2 separate regions of the Homo sapiens genome follow, and region 2 is linked to region 1. The links are contacts of gene promoters, found by promoter capture Hi-C in blood cells and fetal thymus (Javierre and others, 2016). All regions are on one chromosome and are shown on one strand. Each heading gives the region's core, a stretch centred on a gene start or on the middle of the fragment in contact. The rest is flanking DNA. Distances are from core to core; before and after follow the strand shown. Region 1 overlaps TEP1 (telomerase associated protein 1). Region 2 holds the start of HNRNPC (heterogeneous nuclear ribonucleoprotein C).

Region 1 (4,877 bases), core at 1-2,500:
GGGAGGCGGAGGTTGGGGATCACCTGAGGTCAGGAGTTTGAGACCAGCCTGACCAACATGGTGAAAACCCTCTCTACTGAAAATACAAAAAAATTAGCCGGGCATGGTGGTGGGCGCCTGTAATCCCAGTTACTCGGAAGGCTAAGGCAGGAGAATCGCTTGAACTCGGCAGGCAGAGATTGCAGTGAGCTGAACAACAGAGCCAGACTCCGCCTCAAAAAAAAAAAAAAAAAAAAAAGGAAAGAGTGAGGTGGGTATTAATGTGTTAACAGGGCAAGGTCTCTGAGATATACTAAGTGCAGAATAGCATCTAACTTATGATCCTGTTTGTGTAAAGCAAAAGCAAAAGCAGTGGTGATGGTGAAGGCATGTATTTGCATATGCATAGAAACTGTGAAACTGTTAGTATAAAACTGTGAGCAATGTTTACTTCCAGAGAAGGGAACTAGAGATGGAAGTGGGGACGGAACTTTAACTTTCCATTTGTGGTTCAGCCGAATCTCCTTTCAAAAACTCCAGGGTGCAAAACAATAAAATGAGCAAAATAGTGAGACTGTCCTTTTAAGGATAGGACAGTCTCACTATGTTGCTCAAATAAACTGTCCTTATTTTTCTGTTTATTTTTGGCTTGAGATCTCTTTTAAAAAAAATCTGAGTCAATTCTGAGTTTCCCCACTCCTTTCCTTGGGGGCTTATATAGGGCAACGACATGAGCAAAGTGTATTGGGCACAGAAGCCATCATTTTTTACGTGTTTGTCACACTGACGTCCAGTGAGATATTGTTGTCCTTTTTGGCCCTGGATTGTTAGTCATTCAGGTCTTCTTGGAAGTGTTCTGTACTTTTGTCCCTAAGCTTTTTCACACTAAGTTTAGGTGGTTGACTTAACAATATTATTCCCAAAATATTTACATATGAATGAGAGATTAGCCTTTGTCCAAATAAGTAAGAAAATACATTCCTTTTTTTTTTTAAATAGAGGTCTCACTATGTTGCCCAGGCTGGTCTTGAACTCCTGACCTCAAGTGATTCTCCCACCTCAGCCTCCCAAAATGCTAGGATTACAGGTGTGAGCCACCACACCCAGCCAGAAAATAGGTTCCTGATGGTATAATTCAAGCATTCTGTTAGGCAGAGGTTTCTAATTTTCAGTTTATGGAGATCCTGGGAGGTCCATAAATGGGCTTCATAGACACTCTGAAAATTGAGCACAAAACAGTATATACTTTTTTTTTTTCTGTGAAAAAGCTCCATAGCTTTTACCAGATTCTCAAAAGCCTCTGAATCCCGCTGACCAGCAATTGTGGGAACAAGGCTAAAAGGGTCTCTCTCCTCAGGAACTTAATGGTCTATTGGGAAGAAAGACAAACAGGTGATGTGCTCTATGATAGGGGACATATGGGTGTTGTGAAAACAAGGAGAAGGCCACCTAAATCAGACTGGGGCTTGGTGTCAGCACAGGCTTTTTGGAGGAGTTGATGAAACTGAAGTCTGTAGAGTGAGAGGAAAGTAGCATTTGGCCTTGTAAAGGAGGGGTGGTATTGGTAGAAGAAAGAGTGTTCCAGGGATCTGCCTGTGCACAGGCCCGTAGTCAAGAGATACCTTGGCAATTAATAAGCTAAATAAAATTTGTATGATTGAAGCTTAGAGTGCTGAGGGTTAGATCGGGGTGTTAGTGAGAGATGATGCTGGGAGGTGACCGGAAGTCGGGTTTTGTGTATGATGCTGAAGATGCAGAGGGGAGCAAGACAAAGGAGCCCTTACCTTAAGGAGTTGTATTTCAGTAAAGAGAAACAATTAGGCTGGGTGCGGTGGCTCACGCCTGTAATCCTAGCACTTTGGGAGGCTGAGGTGGGTGGATCATGAGGTCGGGAGATTGAGACCATCCTGATGAACATGGTGAAACCCTGTCTCTACTACAAATACAAAAATTAGCTGGGTGTGGTGGCAGGCACTTGTAATCCCAGCTACTTGGGGGGCTGAGGCAGGAGAATTACTTGAACCCGGGAAGTCGAGGTTGCAGTGAGCTGAGACTGTGCGACTGCACTCCAGCCAGCAATAGAGTGAGACTCCGTTTCAAAAAACAAAAAGCAAAAAAAAAAAAAAAAAAAAAAAAACCACAAAGGAGAAACAATTAGCAAGTGGGCTAATAAGCAAACATGCTTAAAAAAAAAGGAGTCCGCCAGGCACAGTGGCTCACACCTGTAATCCCAGCACTTTGGGAGGCCAAGGTGGGTGGATCACAAGGTCAGGAGTTCGAGACCAGCCTGGCCAGCATAGTGGAACCCTGTCTCTTACTAAAAATACAAAAAAAAAAAAAGAAAAAAAAATCAGCTGGGCATAGTGGCGGGCGCCTGTAATTCCAGCTACTCGGGAGGCTGAGGCAGGAGAATGGATTGAACCTGGGAGGCGGAGGTTGCAGTGAGCCAAGATCGTGCCATTGCACTCCAGCCTGGGTGACAGAGCAAGACTCTGTCTCAAAAAAAAAGGAGTCTCACTATGTAGCTCAGGCTGGTTTTAAACTCCTGGGCTCAAGTGATCCTCCTGCCTCAGCCTCTGAGAGTCACTGGGATTGCAGGCTACCACATCTGGCTCTAGCAGGGAGGTCCTTTAGACAAATCTATATACAGTATGTCACCACATGGATTAGAGGGTTTCAACAAAGGTGGTGGTAGGAGGAATGGAGAGAATTGGATAGATCTGAGAGACACTGAGGGAGTAGAATCAATAGAATTTAGTAGTTTACTGGATAATAATAACAAATAATAATAGCTTCTATATTGAACACTTAGTGCCAGGCAATGCTCAAAGTGCCTAATATTTTTTTCTCATTTATTTCTATAACAACTCTGTGAGGTAGGCATTTTTTTTTTTTTTTTTTTTTTTTTTTTTTTTTTTTGAGACAGAGTCTTGCTCTGTCGCCCAGGCTGGAGTGCAGTGGCCAATCTGGGCTCACTGCAAGCTCCGCCTCCCTGGTTCACGCCATTCTCCTGCCTCAGCCTCCCGAGTAGCTGGGACTACAGGTGCCCGCCACCCTGCCTGGCTAATTTTTTGTATTTTTTTAGTAGAGATGGGGTTTCACTGTGTTAGCCAGGATGGTCTCGATCTCCTGACCTTGTGATCCGCCCGCCTCGGCCTCCCAAAGTGCTGGGATTACAGGCGTGAGCCACCGCGCCCGGCCAGCATTTTTCTTAATTTTATAAATGAGAAAACCCTAGAGACACAGAGAATTTAAGTATCTTATCCAACCAAGATCCCAAGGTAAAGGAGGATTCAAAGTAAAGTCTGTCTCACTTCCAACTCCAGTGGGCAAAGGGGGCAAAGGAAGGGGAATGGATTTGGGGCAGAGATATGAGAAGGAGAAAGATGATACATTTAGGATCTGTGGAATTTGGAGCACCTTTGAGTCATCCAGTGGGGATGTCCAACGGGGAAATGGATAAGTGAATATGAAGCTCAGAAGGGAGATCTAGGTCCAGGAATAGATCTGTGAGTCGCCAGCATAGAAATGTCATTTGGAGCCACATAGTGGGTGAGACCACTCCAGGAAAGTATGTAAAAGGATTAGAATAGAACTGCAAGGAGCATTGATGTTAAGAAATGGCAGAGAAAGAATCCCTCAGAAGATCTAGTCAGAATAGTTTTAAGAAGAAAATCAGGACAGTAGCATCATGGAAAGCAAAGGAAGAGAGAGTTTTAATGAGAGAGTAATCAACAATGTCATATTCTACTTGAGGGGTGAAATAAGATAAAGGCCAAGATATATTTATTTATGGGAGTAAGAAAAAGTTCCTTGGTTACCTAAGAGGACTTGTGGACTGGTGGGGACAGAATCCCATTTAGTTGGTTAAAGAGTGAATAGGAGGCAAGGAAGCTGGGGTGGTGAATATTGACAACTTGATTAAAGTACCTGTTTCTCTGGAGCTATGAACCCACAGTCCAGATTATATTGCGAGGCCTCTCTACTAAGTAGGGATCAAACTGATAGTCCTGCAGCGGGGGTCAGGGGGGTTGGGTCTCCTTTACCTTCTTATGAGAAGGCATGTCCCTTCCTCTCCAGCCATTCCTTTTTGTTGTTTTTTTTTTTAAGAAATATTTTTTATTTTTTAAAACTTTGTAGAGATGAGGTTTCACCGTGTTGCCCAGGCTTGCCTCAAACTCTTGGGCTCAAGGAATCCTCTTGCCTCAGCTCCCAAAGTGTTGGGATTACAGGCATGAGCCACTGCACCTGGCCTTTTCTTAATTTCTCTGCTCTTAAGCCTCTGCCTTACCTTTTCCCTATCCCTCTCTCTTAGAATATTCTCTGGATGAACCCAGTCCTGGGAAAAACAACATTGGTTGTTTTCTACCCACAAATCATTGGCATTATCAGGAGGGCTGTGGGGAAGATATGCTCTCATGCAAATACACGCTCAGTGCAGCCAGGTGCTCATCTCCTGTCTTTCTCTCCTTCTAGGCATATACAAGCTGAGTTTCAGCCATGGAAAAACTCCATGGGCATGTGTCTGCCCATCCAGACATCCTCTCCTTGGAGAACCGGTGCCTGGCTATGCTCCCTGACTTACAGCCCTTGGAGAAACTACATCAGCATGTATCTACCCACTCAGATATCCTCTCCTTGAAGAACCAGTGCCTAGCCACGCTTCCTGACCTGAAGACCATGGAAAAACCACATGGATATGTGTCTGCCCACCCAGACATCCTCTCCTTGGAGAACCAGTGCCTGGCCACACTTTCTGACCTGAAGACCATGGAGAAACCACATGGACATGTTTCTGCCCACCCAGACATCCTCTCCTTGGAGAACCGGTGCCTGGCCACCCTCTCTAGTCTAAAGAGCACTGTGTCTGCCAGCCCCTTGTTCCAGAGTCTACAGAT
Region 2 (5,034 bases), core at 176-2,675, 860 kb before region 1:
GCGCCACTACACTCCAGGCTGGTGACAAAGCGAGACTCCGTTTGAAAAAAAAAAAGTTAAAAAAAAAAATCACATGTAATTTTCCCACCAGGAGAGAACCACTACTAACACTTTAGTGTATACTTTCTCCCATATTTTTCGTCTTTGCTTTTTAAAATAGTTTAAAGTGGTCTGGCGTGGTGGCTCACGCCTATAATCTTATCACTTTGGGAGGCAGAGGCGGGCGGATCACCTGAACAGTCTGGCCAACATGGCGAAACCCCATCTGTACTAAAAATACAAAAATTAGCTGGACATGGTGGCGCGCACCTGTAGTTCCAGCTACTCAGGAGGCTGAGGCAGGAAAATCGCTTGAACCCGGGAGGCGGAGGTTGCAGTGAGCCAAGATCGCGCCACTGCACTCCAGCCTGGGCGACAGTGACTCTGCCTCAAAAAAAAAAAAAAAAAAAAAAAAAAAAGAAAAGAAAAAAGAAACCGCTGGCTTAGTAGAGCTGATGCTACCCCACTGCGTGCGCAGTTCCTATAATGTAACCAGAGAGACTGGCAGGTGACGGGGGTAGGTAGGAGACAAGCCATTTCAAGAGGAGGGAAATTAAGGGACCAGATTTGGAAGGATGGGCCAATTTTGCTGGCACTTAAGATATTAGATGCCCTGGGGCCAGAGGCCAGGATTCTGCACTTCCTTTTTATATTGGAGAGGAATAAGGAAGTCAGTTGGTTTCGATGGAACATGTGTTGTCTGAAGAAGGGTTTAATAGGCCAAGAAGCAGATGTCTACGAGGTAGCTGACATTCGAATCTGGAACTGAGAAAGGGTCTGGGGTTGGAAAAACTGCAGGACTGGTTAGTTTTCTACACACTTTAACAAGGCCTAGTCACTGCTGCTCCCTCCTCATTTTAAGAAAAGTCCTTTCTTTATTCACATTGCACAACGGAGGCTTCATTTCGCGCTTTTTTTTCCCTAGGCCCGGGGCTGGGGCAGGTCTTTTGCGCCCGTCACCTAACTACGCCCCTCAACCCTTTCCCCGCCCCCGCGCAGCCGGAAATCCGAGGTCTGGGCGGATCTTCTACTAGGCACTCTAAGGGGCAGCGATAGGACGCCGCGGCCGCCAATCAGGCCTCCCAGATACCCGGATGTGAGACGGTGCGCGATACAAAGGCGAGTTTCCACCCAGAGGGTCGTCCCGTGCAATAGCCAATAAGCATTCTCCAGGCAATAAATGACAGGAAAACTAACCAGTTATAAACTAGTTTCTCTCACGCATGTGGAAATTCGCCTGCTTAGTCTAACCCACTGCTAATTGTGATTGGATATCATTGTGAGGAGCGGTTGAACTGTCTAATTAGGAGCGGGAGCGAAAAAACGCACAGCCAATAGGAAGATTCTCAGGAATGGGGCGGGGACTAGGCCTTCGCCTCGGCGGCAGAGGAGACTCGGGGGCCATTTTGTGAAGAGACGAAGACTGAGCGGTTGTGGCCGCGTTGCCGACCTCCAGCAGCAGTCGGCTTCTCTACGCAGAACCCGGGAGTAGGAGACTCAGAATCGAATCTCTTCTCCCTCCCCTTCTTGGTAAGTGGAGAGGGCGGACGCAGGGAAGGCGCTGGGTTTTTCGGGAAGCGAGAGGGGGTGTGGGAGAGAAGATGTGGGAATCCTTCCCCCTAACTAACCGGGCCCTCATTTATTCTGCTTGTTTTGGGGGATTAGGTTGAAGCCGGGGGCAGTTTTATAGGCCTCAGCCTCTGTATAGGTTTAACCTGGTGTCCTCTAGGCCACGATCGCCAGGGAAAATGTCCTTTTTTCGCTCTTCCTGTGTTAACGGCTGCTTTCCTTTCATTTTCTACGACCGCGAGGACTACGGGATCATGAAAATGAAGATCGTGATGCTCATTAATATAGTCGAAGTTAACGTAGCGCCGATGCCTTCTATTACCTCCGTTCTTCTTACATGTAAAAAGTGGGGGAGGGGAAGGGGGAAGGTTACCAAGTAGATGTATCGCGAGCCTTTAAATCCTGGATCGTGCCGCGTGGCCTACGAGAAAGGTTTAACAAAAGATTCAGCATTTTACTGATAACTTTTTATTTTATTTCTCTCTATGAGCAAATGATGGAGCTCGAAGTAGTTATTTTCACTTACATTTGTAAAAGGAAATATTGTGATATAACTATATTAATATTTACAGCTGACTTTTCATCTGCAGGTTACAAAACACTTGAAATATATAAGTTAGTGGAACTTTGCTTGAGGTAGGTATTAACTCTCTTTCTCAGACGGAAACTGAGGCAGAAAAGTGTTGGTTGCTAGGGTCATATTAAGTCAGTAGCAGCACTAGTAAGGAATTTGACCACGAGGTCAGTCGAGTGGTTTTTACCTAGTTAATGGAATACCTAGTTAATATAGTTCTAAAACTACTGTATTGCAATCTTTGCCAAGAACCTGATGACGGAAACCACGAGGTAACTGGAAATTCCCAAATTGCGCTTAAGAAAAATACTACGAGACTTGAGAATTTTTTAACGTAACTTCCTAAGTGTAAGATGACAAAATTTGACTTTCGGGATATTCTGGCGTTAATTTTCCCGTCCGCCTAAATGTGGGCAAAAATTCACAGCTACGTTATATTAAGCAAATATTAACAGTGCCTATTATTTGCTGGGTGCTGAAATTTGATAAAAAACTTAAAAGTTAAAAAAAATTGTTTAGATCTTTAGTGTCACATTGACTTATCTGGGACATCGCTTTTTTTAATCCTCACATGAGATTTGGCTAAGTTTATTTTTCACAATCTGTTAATCTCACAAAAACTAAAGCTGTTAAGCACAGTTTAAACCCATTCTGCAGGGTAAGAAATTCATCTGTAAGGCAATCTATTTGATAGGAAGTAAAATAAGGGTCAAAAACATCGCGACCCCTTTCTTAAGGCTTAAACATGTATATTATTACAGGAACTTAAAACTAAAGTTTATCATTGTGCTGAACTGTTAGAAATGAGGTTAGGGTAAAAATGGGAAATCATGAAGTAAAAATGTTGGCAAGGAGAAATGTCAGAAATTAGTATTTAAGAACTGTTAATAGTAGTTGAAATTGATTGACGGGCACTTTTCTTTGAGGTTTTCGAAAATGGGTTCCTTCCGGTCAGTATGTATATCAGCGCACCAAAAATTCTTTGAGTTAATATCCGAAACTGTTTGCCACGGTATTTATATCACAATTCTAGGTGTGTTCTCAACTAGATAGGCGTTTAGTAACATTTTCATATTGGCTAGGGGGAAAAGTTGAAGAAGGATGGCCAGGTTGCAGGTTTTCTGACCTTTTTTTTCCCCCTCATGCTAGTGCCACTCTCGGGAATACTTGGTGGTTGATGTTCCTTCTGTAGAGAATTTAAACAGCTTACGTTTGTAATTAAATCTCTAGAGGATTTGACATGGCATTCGACCTTGTTTTGGATGGAATGGCTGTGCGAAACAAGCAAAGAATAAACTCCAAAATAGCTAGTTGCTCTAATTTTAAAGACTAAGGGGCAAATTATTAAATCTTAATAAAGTGTTGAATGTGAGAGGTGTTGGCTGGGGAGTAAGTTTGCCTAGGAGTTAGGAGAAATAGATTTTAATCCTCCTTAGGCAAATAAGGGGACTTAGACTTTTTTTTAAAACCTATTTGAATTTTTAGTTTCTAATTCAAATTTTTTGTTGCCAGAAGCCTAAAAACTGTACAGATTGAGTTTTATTAAAAGCAGTTTTGTTTTTTTTTTTTTTTTTTTTTTTTTTTTTTTTGAGACGGAGTCTCGCTCTGTCGCCCTAGGCTGGAGTGCATGTCGTGGCACAATCTCGGTTCACTGCAACCTCCGCCTCCCGGGTTCAAGCGATTCTCCTGCCTCGGCTTCCCGAGTAGCTGGGATTACAGGCGTGTGCCACCGCACCGGGCTAATTTTTATATTTTTAGTAGAGACGGGGTTTCACCGTGTTGGCCAGGCTGGTCTCGAACTCCTGAGCTCAGGGAGTCCTCCTGCCTTGGCCTCCCAAGGTGCTGGTATTACAGGCGTGAGCCACCGCACCCGGCCCCGGTTTTCTAAATTGGTAGTTATTATTACTATTCTTAACCACATTATTTCAGTCTTCAAGTACTTTATTAGTAGTTGTCTCTGGGGAGCATTATTTGCTCTTAATATGCATATTCATGTATTCTCATTGGAAATGGGAAGGTTTTGGTTTTGTGCATACTAGATTTACTAGAGGATTGGTGAGAACCAGAACTTTGAGGTGTAGCATAACTACAGGTATTCTCGATATTGGAAATTTTGAGTTTATTAACATAAAAGGAAAAAAGGTTTCTTTGGTACATTTACTATCATAGGTTATGTGTTTTTGGATTTATTTATATTGTATCAGGAAAACATTATTTGGTGCTCTAACTTGATTCTGTCACAGTACACTGGAAGGTCAGGCATTTTGTTTAAAGAATTGATTCTAAGGCCGGGTGTGGCTGCTCATGCCTGTAATCCCAGCACTTTGGGAGGCTGAGGCGGGTGGATCACGAGGTCAGGAGTTTGAGACCAGCCTGGCCAACATGGTGAAACCCCCATCTCTACTGAAAATAAAATTAGCTTGGCGTGCTGGCGCTCGCCTGTAGTCCCAGCTACTCGGGAGGCTGAGGCAGGAGAATCGCTTGAACCTGGGAGGTGGAGGTTGCAGTGAGCCATCGCACCACTGCACTCCAGCCTGGGCGACAGAGTGAGACCCCATCTCAAAAAAATGATAATAATTGATTCTAAACTGGGGAATAGAGAGATTCCCAATTTAAAATCTTCACAGTGGTTCTCAAACGTTAGCCAACACCAGAATCAATAGGGCTAGTTAAAACAGATTGCTATGATCTCTACCACAAGGGTTTCTAATTAAGTAAGTCTGGGGTGGGCCCTGAGAGTTTGCACTTCTAGTAAGTTCCAGGTGATGATGCTCATGCATCACTCATTCTGAGAGGTGCCCCTTTAGAAGAAGGGATCCAAACCTCAGGCAGGTTTTGACAAAGAATAACCT

The links. Contacts are between HindIII fragments. The CHiCAGO score rates a contact against its expected background, and 5 or more counts as called.
Region 2: the fragment with the promoter of HNRNPC here is called in contact with a fragment that was not itself captured in region 1 in 1 of 17 cell types (monocytes); the score reaches 6.2 in monocytes.

Annotation. Positions count from the first base shown.
Region 1 is chr14:20,408,042-20,412,918 of GRCh38, reverse strand. It overlaps TEP1 (telomerase associated protein 1), which reads left to right. Exons shown (of 55, transcript NM_007110.5): 2 at 4,456-4,877. The coding sequence starts at 4,480. Among named protein-coding and RNA genes, the nearest start is that of TEP1, 3.0 kb to the left of the region's middle. RefSeq lists enhancers at 385-554, 1-580. The HindIII fragment of the contact is 788 bases long and covers 857-1,644 here.
Region 2 is chr14:21,265,833-21,270,866 of GRCh38, reverse strand. It overlaps HNRNPC (heterogeneous nuclear ribonucleoprotein C), which reads left to right and starts at 1,425. Exons shown (of 9, transcript NM_004500.4): 1 at 1,425-1,569. RefSeq lists enhancers at 696-1,321, 1,425-1,684, 1,322-1,946, 3,446-4,025, 4,026-4,606 and a silencer at 1,255-1,334. The HindIII fragment of the contact is 8,584 bases long and covers 1-5,034 here.